Regions from separate parts of the Homo sapiens genome. Here region 2 is linked to region 1. The links are contacts of gene promoters, found by promoter capture Hi-C in blood cells and fetal thymus (Javierre and others, 2016). All regions are on one chromosome and are shown on one strand. The core of a region is centred on a gene start or on the middle of the fragment in contact, and the rest is flanking DNA. Distances in the headings are between cores, read along the strand shown. Region 1 holds the start of TEX38 (testis expressed 38). Region 2 overlaps MKNK1 (MAPK interacting serine/threonine kinase 1).

Region 1 (2,700 bases), core at 172-2,671:
GTGGGAATGGGGATCTGGCCTGGGGCTGCTGTGGAGCCAGCTGCAGTGCAGGTTGCAGGGGAGCAGGGGCTTCCGCCTTGGGGTTGCTGTCTTGGTCAGCATGGCTCCTGCCTTCGGGGATGTCCAAATCCCACAGAACATCTGGATTCTGGACCTCAGTCTCAGTCTTGGTGACAGCAGGGGCAGGGCCCGTGTTGATGGCTGCATTCATGCCGTAGCGCCGTCGCTTGTTAATCCAGTACAACAATGGGCTGTAGGTGAATGTGGCAGCTCTCATCACCTCCACCCACTGCTGGGCATGCTCTTCCCGCCTCAAGTTCTTCCTCCAGTGCAGAAAGATAATGCACCCTCCAGTTATCACAGAACACAGCCCCAGGATTCCAAAGTACAATGAGACCCACACTAAGGCAGCAAGAAAGAAAAAGAGGCATGCTGGCTGATAGCTGTAGCTTGGGGCCTGAGCTGTTTCTCATTCCTCTTTCACTTAACCCATGCATCAATCGCTCCATCCACTTAACTACTCTCACCGTTCCTTCCCTCCCTTATTGACTTGCCTCATCATTCCCTTATTCAGTCAAAGCTAGATTTCCAGGGAGCTTAAGCACCACCTTTAACTCTTTACAGATCACAAAAGCTAGGTCTAGCGGGGGCATGTGCTGCCCAGGCTCAGTCAAGCCTCTGATTCCTAACCCAGGACCCATCCAATCCATCAGACTGAGAAGTTTCACTATGGGCAAGTCCATCAAGAAGCAAAAGTTCACCAGCACTTTGTGAGGCCCAGGTGGGCAGATCACTTGAGGTCAGGACTTCAAGTCCAGCCTGGCCAACATGGTGAAACCCCGTCTCTACTAAAAATTTTAAAATTAGCCAGGTGTGGTGGTGCATGCCTGCAGTCCCAGCTACTTCAGAGGCTGAGGCAGGAGAATCACTTGAATCCAGGAGGTGGAGGTTACAGTGAGCCTAGATTGAGCCACTGCACTCCAGCCGGGGCAACAGAGCAAAACTTCATCTCAAAAAAAAAAAAAAAAGTGAAAGTTCATCAGTTGACAGAGACACCAATGTCCCATCCCATTCCATTCAGCTGTGATAGTCCTGGGCTATTGATAGTATCTTCTCTGGTTGATCAGAGCATGGTCTTTGCCTTAAAATAATTCTTAGTTTTCTAGAGTAGACTATCTCCTAACTGCTTAGCTCTCCTCCAGGCAGCCAGGCACTGTCCCATCCATGCAAAGGGCCTTCCCTGAGTGTTTGTCCCCAAGCCCTAAGGCACAAGTCCAGTGACAGGGACTGGAGGAGCACTTACTCCCAGGGAAGCGCAGGTCCTCCTGTTGGGAATCCATACAGCTGAGCTTTGGTACCTGGCCGATGGCTCTGGGGAGAGGGAACTCACCCACCCATCTGCCCAGCCAGTCAGCCCATCTGCCCAGCCAATCAGAGTCTCCAGAATGCCCAGGCCCTTTGTTCTCTAAAGGAGAGGTCACTGGGTTCTGAGAATTGGGCATTCTAGGGGCAGTGCTTGTGAAGTGGTCCTGGGTTAATGGAAGGAGGGGACTTCATCCAGTGGCATTTTTTGGGTGGAATGTCACTACTACTTCCATCAGAGACTGGTTCACCTATTGAATTGTCTGTACCTACCCCTTATGGTGAACCCACAGAGCAGACCCCAGAAAAGGGCCATTGTCCCTCAGGTACTTACGGATGTTGCTGGTCTTTAGGGAACGGTTGATGGGATACCTGTCCCCAGTGAGGAATGTAACAAGGAACACACAGCATTGGGCAGCCCTGTTCTCAAAAAGTATCTAACCAAGTTGGCAGGAAGAAACCTGCTCAAGGGAACCAAGTGGTCAATACCTCCTTCTTTGGCTCCAACAATCTGTCTTTTATTTAATTACCTTCCTTCAAGTGCTGACAAGTGTTTCCCAGGCCCCAGGCCCTGTGGGGCTTCCCACCATCTGGCCTGCATCTACTTCCAGCCTTACTTCCCTCCTCGTCCTCCACACACTTTTCCCTTTTGCCTAGTCCGTACTCCTGAACAGACCCTGCTCATTCACATCTCTGGAGGTGTGCCCATGCTGCTCCTTCACCCAGGAGTGCCCCTGCCCACTTTTCCACCACTGAACACCTGCTCATCCTTCAAGACTCAGCTCAGCCCCCCTACTCTGTGACAGACTGCCCAGAATCATATCATCGCCAATTTGAAGAAACTTTGAGAGTTGTCTAGTTCATCTCCACCATCTGATCCCACCATCAGGGCCATGCTTGACTCCTGGGGGTAGATTTTTCCCCACACAGCAACTAATCTCCCTGGACTCAAGACTCACTTGAGTCAGGAACTTGCTCACCACCTCCTGAGGCAGCTTGATGCATTTATGGGCAGCTCAGTTAGAAAGCCCTTCCCTAATTAAGCTTAAGTCAGCCTTCCCAGTATGTTGCACCACTGCTTGTAGCTCAGCTTCTTAGCACCATTTTAATGACTCCCCTCTTTATAGTCCTCCAATGTGTGACTTAGGGAACTATTTAGCACAGAATTCTCTCCAGGGTCCACTTACCCTTGTTCTCCTCGTATATCACTGGCCCCTACTTTCCAGTCTCCTTTGCTGGTTTCTCCCTTTTCCCCTGATCTCTAAATGTAGGCATGTCTAGGGCTCAGTTCTTAGTGCTCTATCTACATTCATTCCATCAGTTATCTCACCCAGACCC
Region 2 (2,700 bases), core at 197-2,696, 110 kb after region 1:
TTTATGGACGAGGAAACTGAAACTCAAGTTAGGAAACATGTATAGCCAGTGAGCCATGATTGCACCACTGCACTCCAGCCTGGGCAGCAGAGATTCTGTCTCATAACAAGAACGTGAGGAAAGGCAAGGCGAAAGAGAGGAATAATTGGGACCAGGCAGTGGCTCACGCCTATAATCCCAACACTTCGGGAGGCTGAGGCAGGAGGATCCCTTGAGGCCAGGAGCTTAAGAACAGCCTGGGCAACAAAGCGAGACCCCATCTCCACAAAAAATTTAAAAATTAGCTGGTCACAGCGGTTGCATGCCTGTAGTCCCAGCTACTCAGGAGGCTGAGGTAGGAGAATTGCTTGAGCCTGGAGTTTGAGGCCAGCCTGGGTGATATAGTGAGACCCCTGTCTCTTAAGAAAAAGAGAGGTTAAGTTTCAAAGGACATTATCTATCAAGAAAGTGAAAAGACAATCTACAGAATGTGAGAAAATATTTGCAGATCATATATCTGGTCAAGGTTTAATATCCAAAATATATAAAGGATTCCTAAAACTCTACAACAAAAAGACAAACCAATTTAAAAATGGACACGGGACTTGAACAGACATTTCTCCAAATAAGGTACACAAATGTCCAACAAGTACATGAAAAGATGCTCAACATCCTTAGTCATTAGGGAAATGCAAGTCAAAACCACAATGAGATACCACCACATACTACTAGGTAGGCTGTAATTTAAAAAATGGAAAATAGTAAGTGTTGTTACGGTTATGGAGAAATCGTAACCCTCATACATTGCTGGTGAGATTATATAATGGTGCAGCTTCTGTGGAAAAGTTTGGCGGTTCCTCAAAGGCTAAACACAGAATTACCATATGACCCAGCAATTCCACTCCTAGGTATTACCCAAAACAATTGAAAACAGATACTTGTATAGCAGTATTCATTACAGCATTGTTCACAACAGCCAAAAAGGTAGAGACAACTCAAGTGGTCATCAGCAGCTGAACAGATAAACAAAATGTGGTACATACATTCAATGGAATACTAGTCAGCCATAAAATGGAATGAGGTTTTGATACATGCTGCAACATGAATGAACCTTGAAAACATTATGCTAAGTGAAATAAGCCAAACATAACAGGACAAATATTGTGTAAATCTACTTATATGAAATATCTGGAATGGGCAAATTAATAAAGACAGAAAGTCTTAATTAATAAAGTCAGATTGGAAGTTACCCAGGGCTAGGGGAAGAAAGAATGGGAGTTATTGCTTAATGCGTATAGAGTTTCTGTTTGGAGTGATGGAAAAGTTTTAGAAACAGATCGTGGTGATGGTTGCACAACCCTGTGAATGTACTTAATTAATACCACTAAACTGTCTACTTAAAAATGGCTAAAATCTCATATTTTATGCTTTATATTTTACCACTAATAAGAGGCTAAAGGAAAAAGAAAAGAAGAAAAAATAGAGAAAAGGGGAGGGAGGAAGGAAGGGGAGAAAGAAGTCGAGGGACTTGCCCAGGCTTCCCGGCAAGGACATGGGTCTCAGAGAACCAGCATTTAGTTCACTCGCTGTGCTGCTTACATGCCATGTAGGCCATTCTCATCCATTCTCATGTGTGCACCCAAACTGCCTTCCTGGTTGGCTCCAGAGATGAGGCACCTGTCTGTGGTCTCAGGCACAGCATCCAGTTCTGGTGGACTTGGTTACTGTGTTGATGCCACCTACGGTGACCAACCATCCCAGTTTTCCCAGGCTTGAGGGGTTTCCTGGAACGCAGGAGTTTCCGTGTTTAAACTGATCAAGTCCCAAGCAAGCCACCCAAGACAAGTTGGTCACCCTAAGCCACCTGAGGCGGTCAGAGGTTTTACTGCAAGCTCCTTTACACTCCACTGAATGGGCTGCAAGAAGTCTGTCTCTCAGGAGTACACAGTAACTTCCCTAGCTGCTGTGCTGCAACCTGTACCATCATTTGCCAGCAAGAGTTCCATACTTCCTTTAGTCTGAGTTCACAATAATCTGACACCAAATAGTCCACCCATTTTTCCCTTAGATGGGAAATAAGAGAGCTCAGGGAATAAGACACTTGGGAAGAAATCCTCAGGGGACTTCTTGTTAACCTCCGGAGAGCAAACATGACCTGACAAAACCAGCTGCGGTGTGACAGCCACGGAGCCATGCACCCGTACAGCCATGCCTGGCTCCTCTTGCCCCGTAGTTTCTTATATCTGTGACCCTGTCTTCTGTTTTCCTTTTCAGGTGTCTCCAGTGAAAATCTGTGACTTTGACTTGGGCAGTGGGATGAAACTGAACAACTCCTGTACCCCCATAACCACACCAGAGCTGACCACCCCAGTACGTATGCTTCCTCTGGGCTCCTAAGTATTTGGAGTGTTTCCCTGATCCAGAGCTGGGAGGTCCAGAACAGAGGGTTAAGGATGGAAAACCAAGTGGACCTATCTTCCTGCTGCCTGAGTGATCATTTTGCTTGCTGCTCTGTGTTCGTGGCTCTCAAGCCTCCCCTGACCCCTTAGTTGCTAACGAAACTGACACTTGGACTGTTAGTTGGGTTGGGTCCTCTCTGCTGATGAAGAGACAAATTATATCTATAAGCACAGGCTGGCCGTTTGCAATGGCTCATGCCTGTAATCCTAGCACTTTAGGAGGTTGAGGCAGGCAGATCACCTGAGGTCAGGAGTTTGAGAC

Evidence for each region. Contacts are between HindIII fragments. The CHiCAGO score rates a contact against its expected background, and 5 or more counts as called.
Region 2: a fragment that was not itself captured here is called in contact with the fragment with the promoter of TEX38 in region 1 in 1 of 17 cell types (M2 macrophages); the score reaches 5.4 in M2 macrophages.

The regions. Positions count from the first base shown.
Region 1 is chr1:46,670,575-46,673,274 of GRCh38, reverse strand. TEX38 (testis expressed 38) reads right to left here and starts at 1,421. Exons shown (of 2, transcript NM_001145474.4): 1 at 1,304-1,421; 2 at 1-402. The coding sequence starts at 1,340. The HindIII fragment of the contact is 3,767 bases long and covers 1-2,408 here.
Region 2 is chr1:46,564,690-46,567,389 of GRCh38, reverse strand. It overlaps MKNK1 (MAPK interacting serine/threonine kinase 1), which reads left to right. Exons shown (of 13, transcript NM_001135553.4): 9 at 2,254-2,349. All of the region lies in intron 6 of MKNK1-AS1 (MKNK1 antisense RNA 1), which reads right to left. Among named protein-coding and RNA genes, the nearest start is that of KNCN, 14 kb to the right of the region's middle. The HindIII fragment of the contact is 9,875 bases long and covers 1-2,700 here.